Regions from separate parts of the Homo sapiens genome. Here all the other regions are linked to region 1. The links are contacts of gene promoters, found by promoter capture Hi-C in blood cells and fetal thymus (Javierre and others, 2016). All regions are on one chromosome and are shown on one strand. Each heading gives the region's core, a stretch centred on a gene start or on the middle of the fragment in contact. The rest is flanking DNA. Distances are from core to core; before and after follow the strand shown. Region 1 holds the start of PPP3R2 (protein phosphatase 3 regulatory subunit B, beta). Region 2 holds the start of OR13C9 (olfactory receptor family 13 subfamily C member 9). Region 3 overlaps LOC107987105 (a long non-coding RNA gene). Region 4 has its middle 39 kb from the start of FSD1L. Region 5 overlaps LOC107987105 (a long non-coding RNA gene). Region 6 overlaps LOC107987105 (a long non-coding RNA gene).

What was found. Contacts are between HindIII fragments. The CHiCAGO score rates a contact against its expected background, and 5 or more counts as called.
Region 2: a contact is called between the fragment with the promoter of OR13C9 here and the fragment with the promoter of PPP3R2 in region 1, in 1 of 17 cell types (endothelial precursors). The highest score is 8.2, in endothelial precursors.
Region 3: a contact is called between a fragment that was not itself captured here and the fragment with the promoter of PPP3R2 in region 1, in 3 of 17 cell types (naive CD8 T cells, M2 macrophages and total B cells). The highest score is 8.1, in naive CD8 T cells.
Region 4: a contact is called between a fragment that was not itself captured here and the fragment with the promoter of PPP3R2 in region 1, in 1 of 17 cell types (naive CD8 T cells). The highest score is 5.4, in naive CD8 T cells.
Region 5: a contact is called between a fragment that was not itself captured here and the fragment with the promoter of PPP3R2 in region 1, in 2 of 17 cell types (total B cells and naive B cells). The highest score is 13.7, in total B cells.
Region 6: a fragment that was not itself captured here is called in contact with the fragment with the promoter of PPP3R2 in region 1 in 3 of 17 cell types (endothelial precursors, naive B cells and activated CD4 T cells); the score reaches 10.2 in endothelial precursors.

Annotation. Positions count from the first base shown.
Region 1 is chr9:101,592,905-101,597,474 of GRCh38, forward strand. It overlaps PPP3R2 (protein phosphatase 3 regulatory subunit B, beta), which reads right to left and starts at 2,065. Exons shown (of 1, transcript NM_147180.4): 1 at 1-2,065. The coding sequence starts at 2,017. The coding sequence ends at 1,505. All of the region lies in intron 6 of GRIN3A (glutamate ionotropic receptor NMDA type subunit 3A), which reads right to left. It overlaps LOC105376186 (a long non-coding RNA gene), which reads left to right and starts at 2,070. Exons shown (of 3, transcript XR_001746863.2): 1 at 2,070-2,184; 2 at 2,439-2,604; 3 at 2,693-2,911. The HindIII fragment of the contact is 3,598 bases long and covers 249-3,846 here.
Region 2 is chr9:104,615,255-104,620,265 of GRCh38, forward strand. OR13C9 (olfactory receptor family 13 subfamily C member 9) reads right to left here and starts at 2,950. Exons shown (of 1, transcript NM_001001956.1): 1 at 1,994-2,950. The coding sequence starts at 2,950. The coding sequence ends at 1,994. The region is part of intron 3 of LOC107987105 (a long non-coding RNA gene); the gene reads right to left. The HindIII fragment of the contact is 920 bases long and covers 2,240-3,159 here.
Region 3 is chr9:104,687,339-104,692,372 of GRCh38, forward strand. LOC107987105 (a long non-coding RNA gene) reads right to left here. Exons shown (of 5, transcript XR_007061705.1): 2 at 3,797-3,869. Among named protein-coding and RNA genes, the nearest start is that of OR13D1, 4.7 kb to the right of the region's middle. The HindIII fragment of the contact is 1,117 bases long and covers 2,924-4,040 here.
Region 4 is chr9:105,406,882-105,411,709 of GRCh38, forward strand. It overlaps a transcript of SLC44A1 not described here. Among named protein-coding and RNA genes, the nearest start is that of FSD1L, 39 kb to the right of the region's middle. The HindIII fragment of the contact is 5,811 bases long and covers 1-4,667 here.
Region 5 is chr9:104,727,593-104,732,278 of GRCh38, forward strand. The region is part of intron 1 of LOC107987105 (a long non-coding RNA gene); the gene reads right to left. Among named protein-coding and RNA genes, the nearest start is that of NIPSNAP3A, 18 kb to the right of the region's middle. The HindIII fragment of the contact is 9,199 bases long and covers 1-4,686 here.
Region 6 is chr9:104,669,349-104,674,431 of GRCh38, forward strand. The region is part of intron 2 of LOC107987105 (a long non-coding RNA gene); the gene reads right to left. Among named protein-coding and RNA genes, the nearest start is that of OR13D1, 23 kb to the right of the region's middle. The HindIII fragment of the contact is 414 bases long and covers 2,805-3,218 here.

The DNA of each region.
Region 1 (4,570 bases), core at 815-3,314:
TTCATTGTTCTGCTGTTTTGAGAGCCTTAAGCATCTTATATGGGAAGTGGTTCTCTGTGAGAAAGAGGATTGGTATGGAGGCACAGATGCTGGGACAAGTCCTAGCCCTGCTCTTCTGAGGACAGTTCATGCTCTGAGAACTCACAATAGTATGTGGGACACCTCAGGGAGCTGGTAACATTTGGGGTACAGGCAGTGATGTATTTACTGGTAAACAAATTCTCCAAAACAAAACAAAAACAACTAAAAGCTTTTGTTCTTTTCTCACCATGGCTGATCTAAAGCTACCAACATGACATAAATGCGTGGGAAGAGACACATGCATTCTGGATCTCCCCTGGAACCACAGGCTCCGGCTCACCCAATGGTGGAGATCTGTTAGTGTGTGAGGACTTCTGCACTGAATGTTCCACTAGGGAAAAGGCTTCCTGGAATGAGAGAGCTCTCAGTTTCTCTTCTAGGCCTCAGATCTGATTTTCAAAATCAGCATAGCTGGTGTAGCTAGCATCCACCTCTGCTGTGGAGACACAATTGTCAGTCTCTGCATCTGTGAGCAACAGACATAATGCCACTTTGGCATCCTAGGGAGATTCCACTGCAGCCTGACTCTACTGCCTCTCCTCCGTAGGACAACTAACTAAATGTCTCATTGTCTCCACCTGGGGGTAGGGACCAGTGTCGGAGGTGAGAGCACTTTCTGGGAGAACACTTTGCTTGCCCTATTTAGCTGGAGGTCCCCTTCATTGAAATTAATGCTGGTGTGGGCTGCCAACCCTGGAAACCCACTGCTAATGAGGATGATGGCTGAGCTGGGCACTTAGTCCAGGCTTAGCATTTCCTATAAGAGCCCTGAAGCTAGTTTCTGTTCAGGAGCTGGAGCAACAAGTCAGGAGGAGGCCAAATGAACTCCTACCCCTCAAACATGCACAGCGATTTCTGGATGCATTGTGGGGAATGGGGCTGCAATCTGCCGAAGGAAAAGATGGGATTCTGTCCCCTAAGAAAAGTGATTACGAGATGCCCAGCAAAGACAAATATATTTGTCCCTGTTGCTACAATAGGAAGTTAACAATCTGGCAAGATATCTGAACACAAGCAAATGAAAACAGTTCACCTAACACCCATGCAAATTATAAATTTCCTCCCATATACAAAATGATGAGAAATAACAGCAAAAATGTATACTTTCTTATTTTTGAACTTTTAAAGTTCTAGTTTGGTCTTTGAATCAAAACAAAGTAAAAGATGTTTATAAAAGCCATTTCCTTTTCTTTCCCCACTATGCTCATTTGACTTGCTCTTCCCCCTATAGGGTACCCTGAGTCATTCAGAGAAGGAGAATTAATAGCACTGAGTTGGTGATGAAGCTCCTGTTAGGACATATGGCTTCACAAAAAGAAATACTTCCAGATAAGTCAGAGAGACAGTTGGACGTCTTGAGCAAATCTTGAAAGAGATAGGGAAGAAAGCAGAAGTTGTTGGGTGGTGCTTGTAAGAAAAAGGCTCATACGATGAGGACCAGCTTCTTGTGGATCTCCAGGTCTCTGACCACAGCACTGAATTCCTCAAAGGATATCTTCCCATCGCCATCCTTGTCCAGGATGATGATGGTTTTGTCGACCAGCTGCTGGAGCTGCCAGTCCGTCAGGTTGTTGCCCACCATCATCTTCAGCACCTGGAAGAGCTCCCCGTTGGAAATGTAGCCATCTTTATCCATGTCGTAAATGCTGAACGCAAACCTCAACTTCTGCTCCTCGTCGCCCTTGACGCTGAACTGGGAGGTCCCCAGGATGAATTCCTTGAAGTCCACTTCTCCATCACCGTCGGTGTCGAAGACGTCGATCACTCGCCGCACCAACGGGTTGTGGCGCAGCTCCGGCAGGGACATGAACTCCTCCACGCTCAGAGACCCTGATTTGTCCAAGTCCAACTTCTTAAACCTCCTGCCCAGCCTTTTAATTTCATCATTGTCAAAGTGGGAGCACATCTCCGCCGGGTAACTGGCCTCGTTTCCCATTGTGGACATCTGGCAACGGCCACGGCTCAAAGGGTCGGAGAGGGGAGCAGGGGCGGTGAGCTCGGGCGGGGCTCGTGCCCGGACGGTTGGGCCATGGGGTGGGGGTAGAGGGCTCCCGGGGGCCCTGGTCGAGCAAAAGGGCAGGGGAGCGGAGGGAGGGGCGGCAGGTCAGAGAGGGAGCGGAGAGAGGAGGGAAAGAAGGAGGGAAAAGGGGGCGGAAGGGGAGGTGGGTGCTGTCTGGGCAGGAGTATAGGGAGGAGAGAATGGAGCCTGGGGGTGCCCGGGAGAGGCAGAGGTGGAAAGCTGGGCTGCCCCTTCTCTTTTTCCTTCTCTCAAACTCCTTGTACCTTTCCATGATAACCCCAATTTCCCTGGCAATTATTTTATCTACTTATTTCTTTTTTTTTTTTCTCTGAGAAAGTAAACCCCAAAGGAGAAGGGATCGCACCTGTGTTATTCGCTGCAGTATCCCAGAAGCACAGTGCTTCACAGGCAATATGTGCTTAATAAATATACGCCGAATGACTGAACTGCAACCAAGGACACTGTATACTTGCTTTACAGACCTAGTGTAAGGATGAAACAAGGTGACACATCAAGGCATTGATATAGTATGTTTTCCACGATTCCCTGGGAGGGGAAGCCGGGATTGACATCCTTCTGTACCTTTTTCAGGACGTAGGATTCAGAGTGTTTGTAAGAGACCAGGCAGATACCGCGCAGAATTTCTTACATGGATCACCTACAGGCACTAACATATTCCCGAGGAATATAAACAATGCTGAATTCAGGGCGTTTTTCAAGATGACACAGGTCTCAAGAACACAACCTCTGTTACTCTGTTCCCTCTTATCCATCATCTCATGCCCGAGTCACATCTTTGTTGTTGGTGCCTGGCGGCTATTCTGCAGAATACCTTGGGGGAAGGTCTGCAATGTGCCCAAAGAAGCCTTTTGTGTGTGTTGAGAGTGACAGTCGCCTCTGGATGATCTCACTTTTCTCCTTTTGTTTCAACTAGATTTGTTCTTTCTGTTGAAGACTAATCTCACATGCTCCCTCTTATTCCTTCTTCCTTTCGGAGCGCATCAATTACTCCAAATGCATAAGAAACAAATGTGGTTCAAGAGCAAACAGTTCAAAGGGACTTGGGGGAACCTCAGGCCACTACATCAAACTGAAAGATGCAAACACTCCTTCGCTTTAAAAAATGTTGGCAAGTTCTGTGTTCTATAGTTCAGCCAAAATATCAGTCTAAAGATAACCATGCTGGAACTAGCAAAACTAAGCCACTGATCACCTTATCATTAAGTCTGGCCATTTTACTTTCCTCTATAAACAAATGATAATCCATGGATATGTTTTAAAGCTGATTATGGGCATTACACAAATGAAACCCCCTTTCCCAATTAGACTGTTATATTGGAATGTTTTTTTGTTTCATTTATTTGCTTGCTTTTCAGTTATTCAGAGAAATGAGCATGGTACAGTTTGCATATAAGCCTATTGAATTTGCAATATTAAGGATACCACCTTAAATTATATTACAAGATGCCTAAAATCAGTGTTGGTCTCTAAATGATACCAACCACTATAGCCTGTGTTCTTTCTAAAGCACAAAGACCTTTCTGGACTCTCTGGGGGAAATATCCAGGCCCTGCAGGTGCAGTTCTGAAAAAATCAGAAACCTCAGGGGCAAGGACAGAACTCTATCTTTTGGGCATGCACTGGGGCTGGGAGCCTCTAGAATTGTGTTATTTCTCTCATCTTGTGTCTTTGACCACAGTGTAGTCCAGTTTCTTGGCTGCAAGTAAAAGAATCTACCTCTAAGAAGCTTAACATGAAAGATAATTTGTTGGAAGAATCTCACATAATCTAAAGAAGAGCTGAATGATTCAGTCTTAGGAAGGGTGAGGATCCCACTGGGTTTAAGGAAATATTGGAACCAACGCCTCAGGACCAGTTATGTAATTTGCAGTGTCCTTTGTTTGAAAATGATTGAGAGCTTCAAGATGGCCACAGCAGAACATTAAACCAAGTACGGGACCTTATGAGACTGCGTGGGCCACATGCCCATGAAGCTGGCCCTGCAAGGAGTTGGGCCCATTGACCTCTCTGTGCCTTTCACCTCTGCTTCTCTTTCCTTCACTCTCTCCTATGGTAAAGCAATTCTTCCACATTGCAGAGGACACAACCACTGACAGATTCCAAGTTAAGACTTTGGGGATTTTATCATCAGAAAAGACGGACTTTTCCCTGTTCTAGTTAGATGCCCATAAATCCCATGAACAGGCTCTGATTGGTCTCACTTGGGTTGGGTTCCCACCTATGAGCCATCAGACATGGCTTATAACATATGGGAGCTTCCATTTGAACCTCATGGATGGAGCTGGTCGGGGGGAAGTGGGGGCTGGGTAGGAAGAGCAGGTACCAAAAGAAGCACATGCTCTTCCTTATAAGAACAGGGTAATGCTGAGCAGACAGAACAACAGATGGACATTAGACAGGTCCATTAGTGCTGACTCTATAGGAGAGAGGAAGCATTTTGAACTCCCT
Region 2 (5,011 bases), core at 1,700-4,199, 3.0 Mb after region 1:
CTTGGAACCAGCCCAAATGTCCATAATGATAGACTGGATTAAGAAAATGTGGCACATATATGCCATGGAATACTATGCAGCCATAAAAAAGGATGAGTTCATGTCCTTTGCCGGGACATGGACGAAGCTGGAAACCATCATTCTCAGTGAACTATCACAAGGACAGAAAACCAAACACTACATGTTCTCACTCATAGGTGGGAATTCAACGATGAGAACACTTGGACACAGGGTGGGGAACATCACACACTGGGGCCTGTCGGGGGGTAGGGTGTTGGGAGAGGAATAGCATTAGGAGAAATACCTAATGTAAATGACGAGTTGATGAGAGCAGCAAACCAACATGGCACATGTATACCTATGTAATAAACGTGCACATTGCGCACATGTACCCTATAACTTAGAGTATAATAATAAAAAATGGTATAAATCTGATGTAACACTATGGAGCCACCTGAGTCATCCCAGAGAATTTATCAAAGTGGCTGGATTTAAGTTGTGAAGGAAAACAAAATTAGCATTTGAGCATTCAAGACAACCTGACTATGAGTCAAACATAAAATGCCTGACTTCCGGAGTTTTCTACCTACCAGGAATTCTTAGTGGGTGCAAAAAGTCCAATGAACTCGTGTATGGGAACTAATAGATTTTCACAGCCCATTTTGTCAGGATGTAAATTTAATTATCAATAATTTCAACTCTTGCCATCAGATTTAATCTGTAAACAACTATGATGGATATATTTAAATATAGTTTGTGACTGTTTAATATTCTTTCCACTAAAATTAACAAGTGAACTTGGGAAGATTAAACGAGTGACTAAACCCAAAGATTCCACAAGCAGGTAATTCTTACTTGTCTACGTAAAATATGTTTATGCCCAATATACTCTAAATTCACTGGTCCATTAATAAAAATTGCTTCAGCTAAACTGATTACCTAGAAGGTGGTTCACTCCTGAACACACTTCATCATTCATCTTGGGCTGTAAATTTAAAATGTTCTTCACATAGAGTAAAATGTTGACGTAAAAACCAAGGAAAAGCAAGATAATGTCTGACATTCCCCAATCCTCTTCTTCCTCAAATTAAGCTGGTTAGTAACAGAGACAAGACATGAATAGTATTTGTACTAAAAATTAAGAGCTTGGACATTCTTCTAAGACTTGGAAAAATATTGGAATTCCCTCGGGATAGCAAAAAAATTGGGCATCTTCTAAATGGGCATTGATAGGACACTCCATTCAACCCAAAACTAGTCCACATTATTATCTGGACCAGTAGACTGATTTTCAAACCTATTTTTAATTTTGCAAAATGTTCTTTATGCTAAAGCCAACCTATAAGTTAAAGCAAAGAAAGACCATAAAGCAGGATATCCCGATTGATTGCATAGGCCCTGCTTTTAAACTCTATTTATCTCCTGCCCCTTGATAGTCCCAAATACTCAGCTTCACACAAAAATATTTAAATACAGAACAAGAAAATAGTATTTAATGACTCAACAGGATCTGGAGATTAATGTGAAACTATAACACAAGGCTTGCCACTGGAAAATGTGAGTGCAGTATATTGGGTTTTTTTCTGTTTTGCTTTTTCTACAACAGAGGGCTTTATTTATTTTGAAAGAGTCAATGAAATGTTGCCTATGAAATAACATTATGTAGAAAAGTGAACATAAAAAGGCACATCACACCCAATTCCAATACAGCAAAAATTTAAAAACCATAATACGAAAGATACTGTTCAAAATGTTGAAAAGTAGCCATTTCCCACTATTAGAGTAATAGGTAGCCCCTCTGTCTTCTTCATCCTACTGCCCTGTATCTTGCAAATTCTCTAGAGTGGACATGCAATAATTTTGAAATGCTGTATCTCATTATTTTAACATAATATATGAAAATGCAGAAAAATAGTAAAAGTATCCAAAATTCTAACATAATTCTGAAGTTTCAACAATATCAAGTGTGTTCACACTCCAGTACATTTTGCATTCACTTGCTAAAGAACCTTCTGTTCGGTAGGTGTTTTACTGCCTCTTTCACATCCTTGTTTCTAAGACTGTAGATTAAAGGATTCATCATGGGAGTCATCACCCCATAGAACATGGATATAATTTTGTCGGTAGCATCCAAGTCATCTGAATTAAGTGTCTCTTTAGACTTGGGCTTCATATACATGAAGAGGATGGTCCCATAGAATATTATGACCACAGTCAGATGGGCTGAGCAGGTAGAGAAAGCTTTGCTTCTCCCCTCAGAGGAGTGAATCTTGAGGATGCTGGAAATGATTAATGAGTAAGAGATAACTATCAAGAGCAGTGGCATCAATGTGAACAATATTGTGGCCACAAGCATGAGGAACTCATTGCCTGAGATGTCAGCACAGGCCAACTTCATGACAGCTAGAATTTCACATGAGAAATGATTGATGACATTCTTCCTGCAGAAAGGCAATTGTACTACAAATGTAGTTTGTACTGCAGAGTTGACAATCCCTGCAAACCAGGACCCAACAGCCATGGGTACATAGGCATTCTTGCTCATGATGATGGGATATCTCAGAGGGTTGCAGATAGCCACATAGCGGTCAAAGGCCATCATGCCCAGAAGCACACACTCTGTTGTCCCCATGGCCAAGCCAAGGAACATCTGCACTGCACAGCCAGAAAAGGAAATGGTCTTTCTTTCTGAAAGGAAGCTCACTAGTGTGGAGGGAATAGAGGTGGTGGTGTAGCAGATGTCCAAGAAGGAGAGGTTCCCCAGAAAGAAGTACATAGGGGTGTGAAGGTGAGGGTCCAAGATGCTGATTAAAATGAGAGTACCATTCCCCAGAAGGATGACCACATACATTATGAAGATTAGCACAAAAAAGAGTAACTCAAGCCTTGGGTGAACAGAATGTCCCTTCAGAAAAAATTCCACCAGAATGGTTTGGTTTTCCCATTCCATTTAAATGTCTCTCTTTTACCTGTAAGAAGTCAAAAAAATTAATATAATTTATTTACATGGTAAATCCAAGTATACCAATGTACAAATATAAAAATTTGCCACGGACCCATAAAAGTATTGAAGAAAGAGAAAATAGGGAAGAGGAGGAAGGAATATACGGAAATGGAATGAAAAGAATTAACAATGCAGGAAGAGAAATATGAGGGGAAAGCTTATGATATTGATCACTCATTCTTGGCCAGGAACTTTGTGATTTTTTTTCACATTACTTAATTTAAACTCCACATTATCATTTGAAAGATAAGAAAACCTAAAGTGAGAGAGTTCAGCCTAAAGTCATATAACTAATGTGTAGCAAAGCCTAGGCTCCAAGACTACCTGTTTGTGTCCCATACTTGCCTGAGGTTTTTTAATGAATTATAAAAGCAATACAGAGTGTATTGCATAAGAGATTTGGTAATTTACTTTAAAACCTCACTCCCAGGTCAGGAGAACTCAACAATAACCCATATGTATTCCAACACTGAAAGAAGTGTGTCAATCTGGAGGGAGAATCATCAGAAATGAACCCAACCAGTGATTACTGCATTCCTGATTATCCAGAGAACACGACCAATTCATGTAAAGCCCAATAATATGAAATCTTCGTGTTAAAGTGCAAACACCTTTTTCTTTGGTTAGGGGTGGAATTTTTTTGTTGTTTTTTAAAATTATCATACAGTTAGATGTCATACCATAAACTGACTTTTTATTTCCTAGTGTATGGTTCTGTGAATTTTAAAACATGTATAGATTCATATAACCACGGCCATAACCAGAACACAGAACTCTTCTATTACCCCAAAACACTTCTTTGTGATATTCTTTTCTTAGTCACCTCTTCCACTTACCTGTACATCCTGGCAACCACTGATATTTTCTATCCCTATAGTTTTACGTTTACCATAATGTCATATAAATACATATAAATAGAATCATATGAGCCACTGGGGTTGAGCTTCTTTCACTTAGATAAAGCCTCTGAGATCCATTCAAGTTATTATTGCTAAATAGTATTCTATTGAGTAGATTACTGTATTTTGCCTATCTGTTCACCTTTTGAAGGATATTTGGATTGTTTCCAGTTTGGGGCAATTATGAATAGAGCTACTATAAATATTTCTGCCCCAATTTTTGTATAACCATAAGCTTTCATTTTTTTAGAATATCCAGGAATGAGACAATAAGCATGTTTAAATGTATAAGAAGCTGCCAAACAGTTTTCCAGAGTGGCTGTACCAGTTTTGCATTTCAACCAACAATGTATGAGAGTTCCACTTGCTTCCCATCTCATCATTTAATATTGTCAGTAATTTTTTATCCATTCTAATAGATAGTCATATTTAATTATGATTTTATTTTACATTTCCTTGATGACTGATGATGTTTTTCCATTCTTTAGTAAAGTATCTTTTGCCCCCTTTTTTTGTTAACAAATGGGGGTCTCGCTATTTTCCCAGGCTGTCCTCAAACTCCTGGCCTCAAGCCATTCTCCCACCTCAGCCTCTGAGTATCTGGGACTACAGATTCATGTAACTACCAGCTTAACCAGAACACAGAACTACAGGCATGCACCACCATGCTGGTTCTATTGCTCATTTTTAATTTTTTTTCCTTGTTGAGTTTTGAGAGTTCTTTATATATTTTGGATATGAGTTATTTATCATGTGATTTGCATATATTGTCTCCCAGCAGCTGGTTTGTCTTCTCATTCTCTAATGCAAACACCTTTTAGTTGCCATGTTAATTGGTTGCTGCCTAAGTCCAATTGAACATGATGCAAAGAAAGACTACGACTAAAGAGACATGTTCTAACAGCACATCTCACTTTAGGTGATACTGCAGGAAAATATCCACTGGAAAATAGCCATTCCCTGGGAATTGGAAATGGTGGATTTTGCTTAAACTTGCCTCAGAAAGTCTCAAGCTATCTCTTTTAATTTTTTCTCAGGAACAGTCATTTCTCCCCACCCAACTACCCCTCTACACAAACAAATTTCCAGTAGTATCATTGTCCATTGA
Region 3 (5,034 bases), core at 2,232-4,731, 3.1 Mb after region 1:
CAAAGAGAGAGAGCTGAGACGTCAACTGATTGAGAAGGAGCAGCTACAGTGACTTCAGTATGTGGACACAAGAAGTTAGCAAAACACTGATGAAAAAGAGGGAGACTGTTTTGGAAGAAACTGAAATCCCAATAAGTCATGCTATCCATTGTAAGTGGAGAAGATGAGGACCCTATACAGATGTTTGAAATGGGAACATTAGGGCAAAGCTGGGAAGAAGTATTTTCAGAAAGAAAGAGGTAAATGGATGAAGTATACGTCTTCCAGCTAAGATGCAGTACTTCTCCTTATCAGTAGCCAAAGGGTAATATGGAGTACATGGACTGGGGCACAGTAGGCTTATAGAGATTCAAGGGCACTGCACTGTGACATAGCCCTAAAGACAGCGAGGGCATGAAGACAGCAGGGTGAATCAATCCCAGCACTGAGCCCATGGCTAACTGAAACTTCCAGCAACAAACACATATTTTTGGTAACCAAACAGAAACGTGGATGAAAAAACCCAGGATAATTATCTAACCTATGCGAGAGGGAGAGAAGAGGCCTTGTTCTAACTAGAGCACTGCTGCTTATTATTAGCTCCTTTGGGGCTCAGAAGGGCTCATTTATTCGGACAAGCACTGGAGCTCTAGTACCAGGGATGTTGGCTATTGTGAAGAATAAGTTATTATATAAACAGCAGGATAATCTAGCTGGAGTAGGAGATAGGATACAATAAATACTTAGTGAATTCAATTTCCTTCTGAGGGCGCAGTCTGTTTTGAGAGTTTCTTTGGTTAAAATGAGGGAATCTGGGTGAGTACATATGCTTTACAAGCAAAATACTACTCTTTCTTATTGGTAAACATGGGGAGAAGGGTGAGCACTTCAGAAACATATTTCTCAAGCAGAGTTTGATTTTCATCTATAGGTGATATCCAATGCTGAGCATCAATCTAAAGACCAGACCGACCCTTTGGAAAGAGATGTACAAAAAAACAGAGAGCCAGGGGCACTGGAACTTTACCCATTTTTGGCAGAAATGAAACTGAGGTAATAATCATTGCTATTACTCCCCTACCCCTTCCCACCATGGGTATCTCCTCTGCCTTCTCTTTTTACTGTGTGATACAGTTGGATGTCTTATCATCCTACCCACACTGCCCACCTTAGCCACATTCTAAGTGGTGAGCTCTAGAATCCTAATCTAAGAACTGGGACTGTGTTAGTGTGTCTTCTCAGAGTGAATATATTTGTCAAGTTGATCTCTTGAAGTCAGAATATTCAATGGCATTAAGTCAGTTTATGTCATAAATCAACAGAAAGCCTTTCTCCAATTTTCTTTCCAATAACTATTCTCACTTGATCTTGGGTATTAGTGAAAATTGGACCAAAATTCTTCAAACTCTCACCACTGTTTCCTTCAAAGGAGAATTTAAAATATTATGTATTTTTATAATCAGAAAATATACATTCTTTTCAAAAAGTTAGAAAATGAGGCAAAATGAAGAACAGTAATAATCCCTCCAAGAACCACATTCCAGAAAAAAAAAAAAAACTGGTTAAGATTTCAATGTAACTTCTTTCAGTCACATATATACAAAACTGTGATCATTTATATGCTTATGAGACAGTCTTCTTTTTTTTTTTTTTTTGAGATGGAGTCTCGCTCTGTCGCCCAGGCTATAGTGCAGTGGCAAGATCTTGGCTCACTGCAACCACCACCTTCCGGGTTCAAGCGATTCTTCTGCTTCACCCTCCCAAGTAGCTGGGACTACAGGCACGTGCCACTATGCCTGGCTAATTTTTGTATTTTTAGTAGAGATGGGGTTTCACCATATTGGCCAGGCTGGTCTCGAACTCCTGACCTTGTGATCCGCCTGCCTCAACCTCCCAAAGTGCTGGGATTACAGGCGTGAGCCACCGCGCCCGGCCGAGACATTCTTTTTAACACAGTATTATATCATGGGGATTTTCCTTTTCATTTACTATTCTCCAAGATTACAACTTTCATAGTTGTTTAACATATGAGAGGATGTATTCTTATGTGTATATTATAACCTACCAACCCCACAAACCAGAATTCCAGCACCTGGAGGTAAAAAAAAAAAAAAAAAAAAAGCATAGCAACCTTTTAAACCATGATTAAACTTGAAACATAATAGGACATATGGATCCAACCCATGGATATGCTATTCCATTTGGTTGGCTCATTCTAGTGAAAAATTGTTGATAATAGTGCTAACACTATCTTTGCAAACTTTAAGAAAAAACACTGCTACAGTTTCACCATTTTGAATTATGCTGCCCAATGATTTGAGAGTAATAATCTCCTTTATCATCTTAATTCTCGATCTTCCTGTATCTAGATTACTCAGAGGTCTGACCAAGAGTGAATGTTGTATTTTACCAAATGCACTTTAGCGTCTTGTTAGAAGACCATGTGTTGGGTTTTTTGCTTATTTGTTTAGTATGTTGATAGATTTTCAAATATTAATTTGGAATTTTATTAATCCATGAAATAAATTGTATCACTTTAGTATATACAGTTTGGATGTACTTTAATTATGGTTATACCATATACATTCATAAATAAGATTATCTACAGTTTTCGTCTATCTTTGAAAGTTTGGGAAAACAAGGCTATTTTTGCTTGATAAAATGTTTCTACAAAATGTTCTATAACTTTTTCACATTGAAACATATTATACAGCACAGAAATTTTTTCTTGAAAGTGTGAAATAACTATTGTAAGCATTCTGCATCCAGTGCAAAATCCAGTCTTGATTTTGAAAGTCAAGATCTCACAATAGGATCTCTATTACCTACCATAGTATACATGGCATAGTTTCTGTTGAATAAATGTAGAATTCTGTAAGACAGATATGCACAGTTTTATGACAGTATATAAAAAGGGCATCCTCCTCACAATAGTAGGTGAGAAAGCTTTCCTAGAAAAGGTAATAGATAAGAACAATCCTTCCAGTTTAAGAAGACGCCACACACAAATGCATAATGATGAAAATGCAAGCTGGGCGCAGTGGCTCAATGCCTGTAATCCCAGCACTTTGGGAGGCCGAGGCGGGCGGATCACCTGAGGTCAGGAGTTCGAGACCAGCCTGACCAACATGGTGAAACCCCAACTCTACTAAAAATACAAAAATTAGCTGGGTGTGGAGGCAGGAGGCTATAATCTCAGCTACTCGGGAGGCTGAGGCAGGAAAATCACTTGAACCCAGGAGGCAGAGGTTGCAGTGGGCCAAGATCACACCATTGCACTCCAGCCTGGGTGACAAAGTGAGACTCTGTCTCAAAAAAAAAAAGAACAAAAAAAAAAAAAAAGAAAGAAAATGCAGTATTATGGGGAGACTGAGCAAAACTCATCATGGTCAGTGCAGAGCATTTGGGACATCAGTAGTGGCTCCAGAGTTAGAGAGAACCAGAGTTGACAATGTGATTAGAGGATGAACTAGAGGACTTTCGTTGAAGCTGCAGAGCAAGCACATATTTTCCTTTAAGTTGTATTTCTCTATTAGGATGTCTTTTGTGAGGAGACTGATGGCGATCATGGGGAAACAAAGTCCTCCTAATAATTCCTCCTTAACACAGTCATGGGAGGAGACATGGTATGAATTGGAGAAAGATACCTAATAGGTTAGGATAGGCCTGTGTAATGGGTTGATTCAGTGTCTTTGGCGAAGTTACCGTTTCCCTTTCTCTTGTTTTGATCTAAATCCTGAAATATTTCACTAACACATATAAGCTGAAAAGAATAAATTAAAATTTAAAATAAATTCTGAAACATGGACTTCTTCACCTGGGATCTTTTCTGAATAGAAAGAAAGACAGCCATTCTTCTTCCTTCATCTTTGTATCCTCGACATCCCCACCTATAGGGTAAACACATAAAGCATACCCTTAGAATGACACTGTAATGACAGAGGCACCCGAATGTGTGTTCTGATCTAGGGAATCTAGGAGTAGCCAACCCAGAGATTTGTTCTTTCTCTGTGATAAACAGCCTGTCCCAAACATGGGCCGTGCAGGGAATTGGGTCCCTAAGCTTTTGGTTGGATGAAGGTTGCCAGGTGGAGGTTGTTAAGGAGAGGATTAAGTGAAAATGCCATATAAAACTGCATGATTTTACAGGTAGTTGTGGTTTTTCTGTCCAGCCCACCACCCCTGGACTCTCTCCCTGTATGTAATTCCCTAATAAACCCCATGTCTCATTTGCTGACTCTGGGTCTCTTGGCCTTTTGCACCTGGTGCCGCCCCTATTGAGATTAATAGGGGTTTAGCACAACACCATCGCCCAAGATACAAGTGGTAAGTTTAGTGTTCTTTCTATGCTAGCACAAATTTGTTTCTTCTCCACCTCTTCTTTCCTTCCACTTTCCTCTACTTCAAAACAGCTATGCTCTATCTAATTAAAACGGCTACCGTAACTGCCCACTTTGTGGGAACAAATCCATATGCCAATGTAGATAGAGACAGGAAAAAGAAGTGCAAGACAAAGGGAATATTTTCCAACATACCAACACATTGGTATCATCTAATTTTTTTTAATCTCCTCCCAAATCATGGTGTAGGTAGTACTCTCTAAGAGGAAGACAAAGGATATGGAAAGGGAATGGAGAAACTTTTTCCCTTCATCTCCCTGGAGCCAGTACTCCACTACTCCCTGGAGCCACTACTGATGCCCCAAATGGTCTGCAAAGACCATGCTGAGTTTCTTCTAGTCTCCCCATAATACTACATTTTTCATCATTATGCAACAGGGAGCTAGGAGGGCTTGCCATCTATGACTACCCAGAGAGTAAGCATTCATCCTGTCTTCAAAGTCTCTGGATATGAAAAGGCCAAAGCAAAAGTGTGGTTGTAGGGTCAGAATAAGATCAGTAAGAAATATTCTCATTCCACAAGGAGAGCCCAGCATAGATATAGTTCTTGTGGTAATAGTGTAACAATGTATGAGAAACAGCCCTTTATATAAGACATCTTAACACAATACTTGGACATATCAATGTAATGAATATGAAACGAATGGAGCACATT
Region 4 (4,828 bases), core at 512-3,011, 3.8 Mb after region 1:
AAGAGAACAATGTTTTACCTAATAGAAGACATCAATAAAAATATAGAAATGATAAAAAAGGGAACCAAATAGAAAACCTGGAGTTGAAAATAACTGATATCAAAAATTCACTAAGAGGGGTTCAGTAGCAGATTTGAGCAGGCAGAAGAAAGAATCACCAAATTTGAAGATAGATCAACTGAGATTATTCAGTCTAAGGAGCAGAAAAAGAAAAGAGTGAAGAAAACTGAACAGAGCCTAGGAGACCTGTGGGATACCCTCAAGCATACCAACATACACAGAATGGGAGTCCCAGAAAGAGAAGAGAGAAAGAAAGGAGCAGAAAGAATATTTGAAGAAATATTGTCTTATAAGGTCTGGGCTATAAAGAAAAAAATACTTGAAGAAATAATGGTTGAAAACTCCTCAAAAGTGATAAAGACATGAATGCACATCTAAGAAGCTCGACAAACTCCACATAAAATAAACCTAAAGAGATCCACACTCAAACAGATTATAACCAAATTGTTGACAAAGAAACATAGAAAATATTGAGTGCAGCAAGAGGGAAGCAGCTCACTACATATAAGTGATCCTTAATAAGATTATTCCCTGATTTATCAGAATGAGGGATGATGTATAGTAACCCTGAAAGAAAAACAATTGTTAATCAAGAATCCTGTATTCAATAAAATTCTCCACCAAAACTGAAAGAAGGCCAGGCACAGTGGCTCACACCTGTAATCCCACTGTAATCTCAGCACTTTGGGAGGCTGAGGCAGGCGGATTACCTGAGGTCAGGAGTTCAAGACCAGCCTGGCCAACATGAGGAAGCCTTGTCTATACTAAAAATACAAAAATTAGCTGGGCGTGATGGCACATGTCTGTAATCCCAGCTACTTGGGAGGCTGAAGCAGGAGAATCACTTGAACCTGGGAGGTGGAGATTACAGTGAGCTGAGATCATGCCACTGCACTCCAGCCTGGACAACAGACCAAGACTCTGTCTCAAAAAATAAAAATAAGGCCAGGCACGATGGCTCACACCTGTAATCCCAGCACTTTGAGAGGCCGAGGCAGGTGGATCACCTGAGGTCAGGAGTTGGAGACCAGCCTGGCCAACATGGTGAAACCCTGTCTATACTAAAGATACAAAAATTAGCTGGCATAGTGGTAGGCGCCTGTAATCCCAGCTCAGGCAGGAGAATTGCTTGAACCTGGGAGGCGGAGGCTGCTGTGAGCCGAGATCTCGCCACTGCACTCCAGCCTGGGCGACAGACTGAGATTCCGTCTCAAAAAATAAAATAAAATAAAAACAAAAAACTGAAAGAAATCAAGACATTCTCATACAAACAAAAGTTGAGGAAGTTTGCTTCTAGTAGACCTGCCCTATGAGAAATGCTAAGGGAAATTATTCAGGAAGAAATGAAAGAACACAAGTAACTCTAGCTATACAAAAAAATAAAAAATAAAAACATCAGTAAGGAAACTACATAGGTAAACATAAAAGCTAGTATTATTGTATTTTTTGTTTGTCACTCATTTGTTGTTGTTGTTGTTGTTGTATTTGAGACGGAGTCTTGCTCTGTTGCTCAGGCTGAGTGTAGTGGCATGATCTCAGCTCACTGCAACCTCCACCTCCTGGGTTCAAGTGATTCTCCTGCCTCAGCCTCCTGAGTAGCTGGGACTACAGGTGCATGCCACCACATCTGGCTAATTTTTGTCTTTTTTAGTAGAGACAGAGTTTTACCATGTTGCCCAGGCTGGTCTCGAACTCCTGACCTCAGGTGATCCACCCACCTCGGCTTCCCAAAGTGCTGGGATTACAGGCGTGAGCCACCGCACCCGGCCTGTCACTCACTTTTTTTCTACATGATTTAAAAGGCAAATGCATAAAACAATAATTATAAATGTATCTGAATGAACACACAATGTATAAAGATATAATGTATGACAATAACAACATAAAGGGAGAAGGTGGAGCTACATAGGAACACAGTGTTTGTACATTATTTAAGCTAAATTGGTATTAATTCAAACTAAATTATTATAAATTTAGGATGTTAATTATAACCCCCAAGGTAACATTAACAAAATAACTAAAAATATACATTCATAAAAGGAAATGAGAATCAAAATAATACACTAGAAAAATCAATTAAACATAAGAGAAGACACAGATATGATATAAAGGAAATAAACAACAAAATGGCAGAAGCAAGGCCTTACTTACCAGTTTTTTAAAATGTAAATGGATTAAACTCTTCAGTTAAAAGGCAGAGTTAGTGGCATAGATTAAAAAACAGACTCCAACTATATAATATCTGCAAGAGACTCAATTTACGTCCAAAGACACAAATAGGATGAAAGTGAAAAGATGGAAAAAGATATTCCATGCAAATAGTCATCAAAAGAGAACTGGAGTAGCTATAGAAATATCAGACAAAACAGCCAGTAAGACAAAAATTGTTACTAGAGAGGACATTTTATAGTCATAAAAGGAACAATGCATCAATAACATATAGCAATTATAAACATATGTGGGCCAAGTGCAGTGGCTCACCCTTGTAATCCCAACACTTTGGGAGGCCAAAATGGGAGGGTCACTTGAGCCTAGGTGTTCGAGACCAGCCTCAGCAACAAAACAAGACCCTGTCTCTACAAAAAGTTTTAAAATTAGTCGGGTGTAGTGGCGTGTGCTGGTAGTTCTAGCTACTCAGGAGGCTAAGGTGGGAAGATCCCTTGAGCCCAGGAGGTCGAGGTTGCAGTGAGCTATGATCACGCCACTGCACTCCAGCCTTGGTGACAAAATAAAAAATAAGCATATGTGCATCTAATAAGAGAATCCACAGTACACGAAACAGAAACTAACAGAATTAAATGGAGAAATAGACAAATCAACAATAATAGTTGAGACTTCAATATTTCATTTTCAAAATGGATAGAATAACTAGACAGAAGATCAAGAAGAAAATAGAAGACTTGAAGAGCATCATACACCAACTAGACATAATAGACATCTGTAGAGCACTTTATTCAACACTATTCTTCTGAAGTGCACATGGATCATTCTCAAGGCTAAACCATGTTAGGCCACAAAACAAATCACAGTAAATTTTAAAAGATTTAAATCATATAAAGTATATTCTAGGTCAAAATAGAATGAAATTAGAAATAAATAACAAGGAAATTGACTCAAAATGTTATGAAAATAACAAGTAAATTACCTCAAAATAGACCTAAATATAAGAGCTAAAACCCTAAACCTCTTAGAAGAACTCATAGGAGTAAATCTTCATGACCTTGGATTGGGCCATTGTTTCTTGGCTATGAAACCAAAAACACAAGCAATGAAAGAAAAATAGATAAATTGGACTTCATCAAAATTGGAAAATTTTTGCCTCAAGGGACATAATCAAAAGTACAAAAAGACAACCCACAAAATGGGAGAAAATATTTGCAAATCATGTATCTGATAAAGGTCTACTGTCCAGAATATGTGAACAACTCTTACTACTTAACAACAAAAAAATAAACAACCCATAACGAGCAAAGGACTTGAAGAGCTATTTCTTCAAAGAAGTTTAAAAATGGCCATGAAGCACATAAAGAGATGCTCAATGTCATTAGGGAATTGCAAATCAAAACCACAAGGAGATACCACTTCAAACCCACTAGAATGACTATACTCAAACAAATAGACAATAAGAAGTGTTGACGAGAACACTCATACATTGCTGGTGAGAATGTAAAATGGTGCCACCACTTGGAAAACAGTTTGGCAGTTTCTCGATAAGTTAAACATAGAATTACCATGGGATGCAGGTATATATCCCAAATGATTGAAAACAGGTGTTCAAAGAAAAACTTGCTCACAAATGTTCATAGTAGCATTATTCACGATAACCAAAAAGTAGAAATAACTAATGTCCATCAGCTGATGAATGATAAGCAAAATGTTGTATATCCATACAACAAAATACTACTCAGCTGTAAAAAGAAATGAGGTACTCATACATGCAACAACATGGATGAACCTTGAAAACATGATGCTAAGGGGAAAAAGCCAGACACAAATGGCCACATATTGTATGATTCCATGTATATGAAATATCTAAAATAGGCAAAATCCATAGAAACAGAAAGCACATTCATGCTTATCAGGCACTGGGGAAATTGGGAATTACTGCTTATTGGAAATACGGTTTCCTTTTTGGGTAATGAAAATATTCTGGAACTGTATAGTGGTGATGGGTGCAAAACTTTGTGGATGAACTAAATACCACTGAATTGTACACTTTAAAATGGTTAAAATGGTAAATTTTATGTTATATATATTTTACCAGAATAAAAATAAAGACATACAGAAAAGTTAGAAGAATAGTTCAAAGAATTTTTATATATACCCTTCATCTACATTCCCTAAATGTTAGTATTTTAATGCATTTGCTTTTTCTCCTCATTTCCACTCCTCTATCCTTCTTCCCTTCTCCTTCCCCTTCCCCTGCTTCCCTTTTCCTACCTCTCCCTCCCTCTCTCTTGCTCTGTCTCCATTTCTCTCTGTCTCCATCTCTCTTGGTCTCTCTCTGTGTATGTGTGTGTGTGTGTGTGTGTGTGTGTGTGCGTGTGCATTTTACAGACCTTCTTTAAATTTTAACAGTTGTCCCACTAATGTTCTTTATGGAAAAAAGCTTTTTTTTTTTCTGGTCAACAATCCAATCTAGGATCACACATTGCATTTCATTTTCATGTCTCTTTAATCTCTTTTAACTTGGAGCAATTGCACAGTCTTTTGTTGTCATTCATGACCTTGATGTATTTGAAGAGTCAGGCCATTTATTTTCTAGAAT
Region 5 (4,686 bases), core at 8-2,507, 3.1 Mb after region 1:
ATCTAATATATAATACAGTGTAACATTTCGTCCACAAGCTCAGAATACACATTCTATTCAACAACACACGGAACTTTCTCCAAGATAGACCATATGACGGGCCACAAAACAAGCCTCAATAAATTTAAGAAAATTGAAATTATATCAAGCACTCTCTTGGACCACAGTGGAATAAAACTGAAAATCAACTCCAAAAGGAACTTTCAAAACCACGCAAATACACGGAAATTAAATAGCCTGCTCCTGAATGAGCACTGAGTCAAAAACAAAATCAAAATGGAAATTTAAAAATTCTTCCAACTGATGACAATAATGACACAACCTATAAAATAAAAACCTCTGGGATACAGCAAAGGCGGTGCAAAGAGGAAAGTTCATAGCCCTAAACGCCTACATCAGAAAGTTTGAAAGAGCACAAACAATCTAAGGTCACACCTCAAGCAACTAGAGAAACTAGAACAAACCAAAAACCAAACACAGCAGAAGAAAGGAAATAACCAAGATCAGAGCAGAACTAAATGAAATCGAAACAAAACAAAACAAAATACAAAAGATAAATTAAACAAAAACCTGGTTCTTTGAAAAGATAAATAAAATTGATGAACCATTGGTAAGATTACCCAAGAAAAGAAGAGAGAAAATCCAAATAACCTCACTGAGAAACGAAACAGGAGATATTACAACTGACACCACTGAAATACAAAAGATCATTCAAGCCTACTACGAACACCTTTACTCACATAAACTAGAAAATCTACAAGAAATGGATAAATTCCTGAGAAAATACAACCCTCCTAGCTTAAATCAGGAAGAATTAGATACCCTGAACAGACCAATAACAAGCAGCAAGATTGAAATGGTAATTTAAAAATTACCAACAAAAAAAAGTCCAGGACCAGACGGATTCACAGCAGAATTCTACCAGACATTCAAACAAGAATTAGTACCAATCCTTTTGACACTATTCCACAAGATAGAGAAAGAAGGAACCCTCCCTAATTCATTCTATGAAGCCAGTATCACCCTAATACCAAAACCAGGAAAGGACATAACCAAAAAAGAAAACTACAGATCAATATCCTTGAGGAACATAGATGCTAAAATCCTTGACAAAATACTAGCTAACCAAATCCAACAACATATCAAAAAGATAATCCACCATGATCAAGTGGGATTCATACCAGGGATGCGGGGATGGTTTAACACTCAAGTCAATAAGTGTGATACACAACATAAACAAAATTAAAAACAAAAATCACATGATCACCTCAATAGATGCAGAAAAAAAATTTGACAAAATCCAGCATCCTTTTATGATTAAAACTCTCAGCAAAATCAGCATACAAGGGTTACACCTCAATGTAATAAAAGCTACCTATGACAAACCCACAGCCAACGTGATACTGAATGGAGAAAAGTTGAAAGCATTCCCTCTGAGAACTGGAACAAAACAAGGATGCCCACTCTCACCACTCCTCTTCAACATAGTACTGGAAGTCCTAACCAGAGCAATCAGACAAGAGAAAGAAATAAAGGGCATCCAAATCGGCAAAGAGGAAGTCAAACTGTCACTTGTTTGCTTACGATATGACTGTTTACCTTGAAAACCCTAAGGACTCCTCTAGAAAGCTCCTAGAACTGATAAAAAGAATTCAGCAAAATTTCTGGATACAAGATTAATGTACACAAATCAGTAGCACTTCTGTACACCAACAGCAACCAAGCAGAGAATCAAATCAAGAACTCAACCACTTTTACAATAGGTGCAAAAAATAAAATAAAATACTTAGGAATATACCTAACAAAGGAGTTGAAAGACCTCTACAAGGAAAACTACAAAACATTGCTGAAAGAAATCACAGATGACACAAACAAGTGGAAACAAGATCCCATGTTCATGGATGGATAAAATCAGTATTGTGAAAATGACCATACTGCCAAAAGCAATGTACAAATTCAATGCAATCTCCATCAAAATACCACCATCATTCCTCACAGTTATAAAAAACAATTCTAAAATTCACATAGAACTAAAAAGAGCCCACACAGCCAAAGCAAGACTAAGCAAAAATAACATTTTATAATGTGACTTTATTAAACGTTTTGTTATATTGTATTTATTCAATGTGGCATAGTTTTTTAAATGGAAGAAATGGGTACAAACTCTAACACTGTAATTTACTAGGATAATAAATTTTAACCTATCAGAGACTCCATTTCCCTTGACGTAGAATGTGGCATTTAGTCCCTAGCTTAAGGGGTCTTATGGGAATTGAATAAGGGAAAAAAAATGCAAAATGCCTTCTTCGGTGCTTAACAAAATGTCATGCAACAAAAAATATACATTCCCCTTACCTTTCTCCATATATATCTATCTTGCCTAACAGACTGAGGGGATTCCCTGAGGGAAAGATATGAAAGTAGTATGTACTTAACAGTCCTTGGTACCCAGAACAAAATAAGCATTTATTGTAAATATGTGTTGAATGAGTGAATGGGTGATTGTCTTTCTTATGCTGAAGTTAAACAATTTTATTTGCCATTGCCTGAATAATCCTTATGACTGCTGCATCTGCATTTTTGCAAATACCATTCTCTCCACCTAAAATTGCCATCCCTTTAACCTACTATGAAAATTCAAGGTTCTCCTCAAAAAAAGTCTCCTCTGACTTTAAAGCCTTCTAAAATCATCCTAGCAAGACTCTACCTTGTCTTCCTCTAAGTTAAATTCTTATACAATCTACTTAGGCTTTGAAGTGTTTATTATGTTTTTATTATGTGTTTTTTATTCTCTTCAATTATATATACAATATGTCTGTTATTTTATTCAAAGGTCATCAGACACAGAGGCTGTGAGTTATCTGTCCTTGTAATACCACAAATGTTAACAGTGGGCTTCAATGAATAGATTCTTTGGATCACTGCATTTTGCTTTATTGTATAAAGTCTATTTGTTTATTAATTTTCTTTTCATAGAATATGAGCAATGTGACTGTGTTGTATGTAATACATATAGCTAGCAATAATCCTGCTTAAAATAATATTTCCTTTGTTGCATATATGGTTTTGTTTATTCTGGGCATCAGAGGTTTGTCTGTAACAGATCAGCAAAGTCCATCTAACCTAGTTATAAATAGATATAATCTGTGAACTACTTTATTATGCTTATAATTTGACAATGACCAAAATAAAATATTAACTTATAAAACAGTGACTCCTGTATAAGTATCTCTAGCTCTGAGATACACTCTAGGCATTTGAAATATAACATGTCCAGGCCAGTGGCTCACGCCTGTAATCCCAGCACTTCGGGAGGACGAGGAGGGCGGATTACGAGGTCAGGAGATCGAGACCATCCTGGCTAACACGGTGAAACCCGGTCTCTACTAAAAATACAAAAAATTAACCGGGCGTGGTAGCGGGCGCCGGTTGTCCCAGCTACTCGGGAGGCTGAGGCAGGAGAATGGCGTGAACACGGGAGGCGGAGTTTGCAGTGAGCCGAGATCGCGCCATGGCACTCCAGCCTGGGCCACAGAGCAAGATTCCGTCTCAAAAAAAAAAAAAAAAAACCAAAAACTAAGAAATATAACATGTCCAAAATAGAAACCTTGATTTTCTTATCCCCAAACTACTTCTCTTCAAGTGTTCCCCATCTCAGGTAGTGGCATCAACATACACTCACATCCAGCCCCCTAGTGAATTCTATCAGCTCTATATTCAAAATTTACTCTAAGTCTGACCACTTCCACTGCTACCGCCCTGGTCCAAGCCATCATCATCTCACATAGGCTACTGCAATGGCTTCCCAAATCACATCTCTGACTCCTCTTTCATCTTCCTACAATTCCTTCTCTGCATAGCAGCCAAAGTGTTTTTAGAAGAGTATATACTGAAGTTATAAAACAGGTAAAAACGAATTAATGTTGCTTTAAAAATTAGAACAGTGGCTGCCCATGTGGAGGAAGAGTTACAGCAGGTATCAACGGGAATGGGGAATGAGGGAACTTTTCTGAGGTCATGTTAACGTTCTATATCGCAGTAGCAAGTTGAGTGACAAAGGGATGTGTTTGTCAAAACTGAATAATTAGGATTATGAATTTATTGTATATAAATTTTAAATTAAAAGAAAAAACCATAAACAAATATTAAACTCTAGTTAATGATACACATGCTAAAGTACTTAGAGAAAAGTGTACGATATCTGCAATGTACTTTAAAAGCATCCACAAATGACATGGATTTAGTGGGAGGATAGAGCAATGAATAGAAACATAGATATGAGGCTGGGCGCGGTGGCTCACACCTGTAATCCGAGCACTTTGGGAGGCTGAGGCGGGCGGATCACCTGAGGTCAGGAGTTAGAGACCAGCCTGGCCAACATGGTGAAACTCCATCTCTACTAAAAACACAAAATTAGCTGGGCATGGTGGTGCATGCCTGTAATCAATCCTAGCTACTTGGGAGGCTGAGGCAGGAGAATCGCTTGAACTCAGGAGGTGCAAGTTACAGTGAGCTGAGATCGCCCCATTGCACTCCAGCCTGGGCGACAAGAGCGAAATGGAAGGGGAAGGGGAAGAAGAAGAAAAGAAGGAGGAGAAGGAAGGAAGGAAATAAACCTAGTAAAATGTTAGTGGTAAAATCTAGTTGGTTGGTATGTGATGTTCAATGTAAAATTCTTTCAGTTTT
Region 6 (5,083 bases), core at 1,762-4,261, 3.1 Mb after region 1:
TAATGTCTCCCCACAAAACAACTACCACCTAAAATTCCAGATTATCTCCTAGGGCAATCTCATTCACTCTATGGTTTCAATGCATCATCAATAAACTGGTGAATCCAAATCCATAGGCCTCATCCCAGATTTCTCTCCTGGGCATTTTATGGTAGCATCTTATCTAAATGCAGTAAGTAAAACACATGTCTTTCACTCACCATGTTGACTTACACTACATTATCTTCCTGCTACTTTCCTATTATGAAAAGAAATGTTACCCCCTGTTCTTTTGATGATTTCCAAAATGCCTAAACTGAACTGCAAAGTTGTCTGAGCTCTAGATCCTAAATAACTCTTTAGCCTCATATTTCACAAAATTTCACCTCTCCCAACTGTTCTTTATCCCATGTGCAACCAAAATGGAGCTTCTTTTAATTTTTAGAATATACCACCTTCCCCCACCACCCCCCTCCTCTCTCTCTAGAAAACAAAGAGCAAATGGAGAATTTTTGAGGGAGAAAGAATAGCATAGCATATGCAGAGGGTAGGGAACTCTTCCTTTTCTTGCTTAATTGCTATTATCCTTCTCCCAGAATCTCCTGAAGATGTCATTCCTGACCCCTAGTCTGAGTTAGGCAACCCTCCTGTGTGCCCTGATAACATCCTATATCTCCCTTAATACAGCACTTATCACACATTATTGCAATCACGTGTTTAATTATCTGTGTCTGGCCAAACAGCAAGCACCTTAAGAATAAGCACCATCTTGCTCTTGTTAATCACTGTAATTACAGAATTAAGGCCAGTACCTGGCATATTTTTAACCACTCAGAATGCAAGTGTTATATTGTTGACTTCCCTTGCAATTCCTAACTGATTAATGGCACCACCAAATCTAAACTATCAAAACTTATAAAGTTGGACTCCTAGACATCTTTCACATCTGTTAACTACCCTCCAGCTATTCTTAGTACTATTTCCACATTATGCCTCCATTTGATTACTGCAAGGTACTCCCAGTTGGCCTTTCTACCTTCATTTTCAACACCATCGCTAGCACCTCAGTCTATTCTCCATAATTTTGTCTGCGTTATCTTTCCAAAAAATCAATCTGATCATGGTAAGCCTCTGTCAAATAAAAGCTGCATGATTTTGGGCCCGTTACTTAAGCCTCAATTTTCTTAATCTGTTAATAATATTTTAAGGTAAAAATGTGCAACTAAAGAAGCTAATAGGGGATCAATTGAATATCCAAAAAGAAAAAATTTAATCTTGGCCCCTACTTTATACACAAAAATCAAATCAAGATTGATTACAGATTTAGATATGAAAAATGGAACAATACATCTTTTAGAATAATACGTAGAAGTATTCTTTTAGAAGAATATATAGAAGAATAACCACAAAGAAAAGATTGTGAATTGGTCTAATTATATTTAAATTAATAACTTCTATTCATTAGATGTCATCATTAAGAACATAAACAGAAAGGAAAAATATTTTTTAAATAAATATTTTTAACAAAGGATTCATATAAATAAGATATGAAAAATCATTTAAAATCCATTTTAAAAAGACAACCTAGTAGAAGAATGGACCAAAAAAAAAGTGAATGTACATTTCATCAAATAAGGATATTTGAATATGCAATAAATGTATGAAAAATGCTTAACTTCAGGGAAATAAAAAAATAAAATAATATGCTACCACTCCCACCACAACAGCTAAAATGAAAAACAGAGATAATACCAAGTGTTTCCAAAGATGTAAAGCAACTTAAGTTCTTACATACTGCTGGTGGGAGCTTAAATTGGTACCAATACTTTATAGAACTGGAGATGTGTATGAAGCTAAGTATTTGCATACCCTATAACTCAGAATTCTTTCTAAACTATATATTCAATAGAGTGATTATATACAAATTTACACCAAAGATGCATATAAGTATGTTAATAAAAGCACTATTCATACCTTATACAAACACTAGAAAAATATAAATGTTTATCACAAGTAGAATAATGGAATATTTAGCATGGAGAATGAAGAAGGTGCAACTTCAAGCAATATAATATTGGTTAAAGGTATACATAATACATGATATTTGAAACAAATAAAATCAATATGCAGTATTAAAATAGTAATATCTATTAACTCTGAGGAGCTTTGGGGGTGCTTTCTCTGTTTTCCACGATCTGAGATGTGTTCCATTAAAGCATTCAACATGCTATAGCACTTATAAATTGAGCATTTTCAACAAATAACTAGATAGAGAACCCACTAAATACAGAACCCAATGCATTTCCTAAGACTTTAATAGATGTCTTTCATGATTAACAGTATTACTAGTGTTATTATTACATGCTTACAAAGCTGAAATTTCCATGGCTCATTCTCAAAAAGGAAACAGTCAAGCAATCAAAATAATTTTCAACCTCTACTTAACTTTCTTAAAAACCATGGAAGGAATCCAAATATTTCCTACCACAGTAACACTGATAAGAATTACTTTTTCTTTTATCCACTGGCATCATATCCCCCAGCTGTTTTGGAGCATCTCTCCATTTTCCAGCTTTGCTTTTTTTTTTTTTCCTCCCTCTCTCTTGCTTTCATTTCATATGATAATATTCTTTTGATGTAAATATCTTTTATCAGGTAAAATAAAATTTCTCTTCCTTGGACCAGCAGTTCAGGGGATGGTAAGTTTTAAAACAAGGGAAAAAACAGACTTTAAGTATTGAGGCTTATGTCAGTGAGCTAGGATATATATTGATTGTATCTCACATTTTTAATTATTTTGAAGATTATAAAGATCAATAACTGGAAGCTTCTGCTCTTTTGATAGATGGATTTTGAGAAGAGTTGAACATTAATATTCCCAAATCAAGGGTTATTTTTTCTGTCGCACTGTCGCTAAACTCAAATGTCACCTCTTCTGTGAAGCCTTTACTAAACCCTCCAGGAAAAAATCACTTCTCCCACTTCAGTGTTTCTATATGCTTCTTTGTGCCTCTTTTATAATTTGTATTATATATTGTATACTATTTATTCAGAGGGATGTAGTTGAAAGCACACATTTTAGAAATCAGGAAGAGATGGATAAAAATCCCAACTCTGTAGTTCACCAGGAACATAAAATTTAAAGACGTAAAGTGGAGTCCTCAGGAAATAGATGTTCATTATAGTTCTTTGTTGAATGAATGAAGGCATGATTGCTTTTCACACATTGAAGCTAAGCAAGCTTAGTTACCATTACTAGAATAAGCCTTGCCAATCATTGCTGCCTCTGCATCTTTGTTCATGCCATTCTCTCTATCTAAAATCAAAATCTCTCTAATCTATCACAATCCAAGACCCTCCTCAAAAGCCTCCTCTGCCTTGAAGCTCCTACTTATCATTTTAACTAAATTGGATTTGTTTAGCAATCTTTCATAATATTTATAATATGAAGATTTATTTTCTATTTGTGTGTTGTTTGTATATCCTGCTTTATTGAAAGGTCATTAGAAGTAGAGTTACTGGTCTTTGTAATCTCCACAATTAACACGTTGATAATTTGGATCAGTGCAATTTGTGTATTCAACTTTTTTAAACAGGCATTTTTCTTTTGAAGGTTGTGTCTTGTATGATGTTACAGGGAATACACACAACTAGCAATAAGCCCAGTTGAGACAGCATTCTCTTCAACAGTGTTTCAGGCCAGGTGTGGTGGCTCACAACTGTAATCCCAGCACTTTGGGAGGCCAACACAGGCAGATCACTTGATGTCAGGAGTTTGAGCCCAGCCTGGCCAACATGGTGAAACCCCATCTCTACTAAAAACACACAAAAGGCCAGGTGTGGTGGCTCACACCTGTGGTCCCAGCACTTTGGGAGGCCAAGGCAGGTGGATCAGAAGGTCAGGAGATCGAGACCATCCTGGCCAACATGGTGAAACCCTGTCTCTACTAAAAATAAAAAAATTAGCCAGGCGTGGTGGTGGGTGCCTGTAGTCCCAGCTACTTGGGAGGCTGAGGCAGAAAAATCACTTGAACCTGGGAGTCAGAGGTTGCAGTGAGCCGAGATCACACTACTGCACTCCAGCCTGGTGACAGAGCGAAACTCAGTCTCAAACAAACAAACAAAAAGCCCACACAAAAAAATTAGCTGGGTGTGGTGGCGTGCACCTGTAGTCCCAGCTACTAGGGAGGCTGAGGCATAAGAATTGCTTGAAACCAGGAGGCGGAGGTTGCAGTAAGCCAATATTGCCTACTGCATTCCAGCCTGGGTGACACAGTGAGACTCTGTCAATTAAAAAAACAATGTGTTTCAGTGTTGTTTACCTGGTTTTGTCTCACCTGAGTGTAACAACCGCGACTATAATAGGTCAGGCAGAGTCTATCTAACTGAATTAAACACAGATAAGAATCCCAGAGCTACTTTCTTAAGGTCATTATTTAACAAGAAGAAATATTAATCTATAAACCAGTAATTCCTACATATGTATCTCCATTCCTGACTTCCCTAACATCCAGATTCATATATTCAACTTCCTACTGCACATTTCCACTTAGATAATTAATAAGTGTATCAAGATAATGAGTTCAATACAGAACTGTTGATTCTCTCTATCCTCATTTGGTTTCATCTTCCCTACCTCAGGAAATGTAAAACCACTTATACAAATCCAATGCACCAGAAAATTCTGTCAGTTTGACTCAAAATTTATACTGAACCTGAATACTTCAGTTGCTACCACTCTAGTCCAAGCTACTGTTATCACATCTACACTACTGAAATGGCTTTCAAAGTCATCTCCTTGCTTTCATTCTTGTTCTGCTACAAGTCATTCTCCAGTAGCTTGGGTGGTTTTTTTGTTTGTTTGTTTTGTTTTGTTTTGTTTTGAGACAGAGTCTCGCGGTGTTGCCCGGGCTAGAGTGCAGTGGCGTAAACTCGGCTCACTGCAACCTTGGCCTCCCAGGTTCAAGCAATTCTCCTTGCCTCAGCCTCCCGAGTAGCTAGGATTACAGGCACTCACCACCACACCCGGCTAATTGTTTTTGTATTTTTAGTAGAGACCGGGTTTCACTATGTTGGCCAGGCTGGTCTCGAACTCCTGACCTCA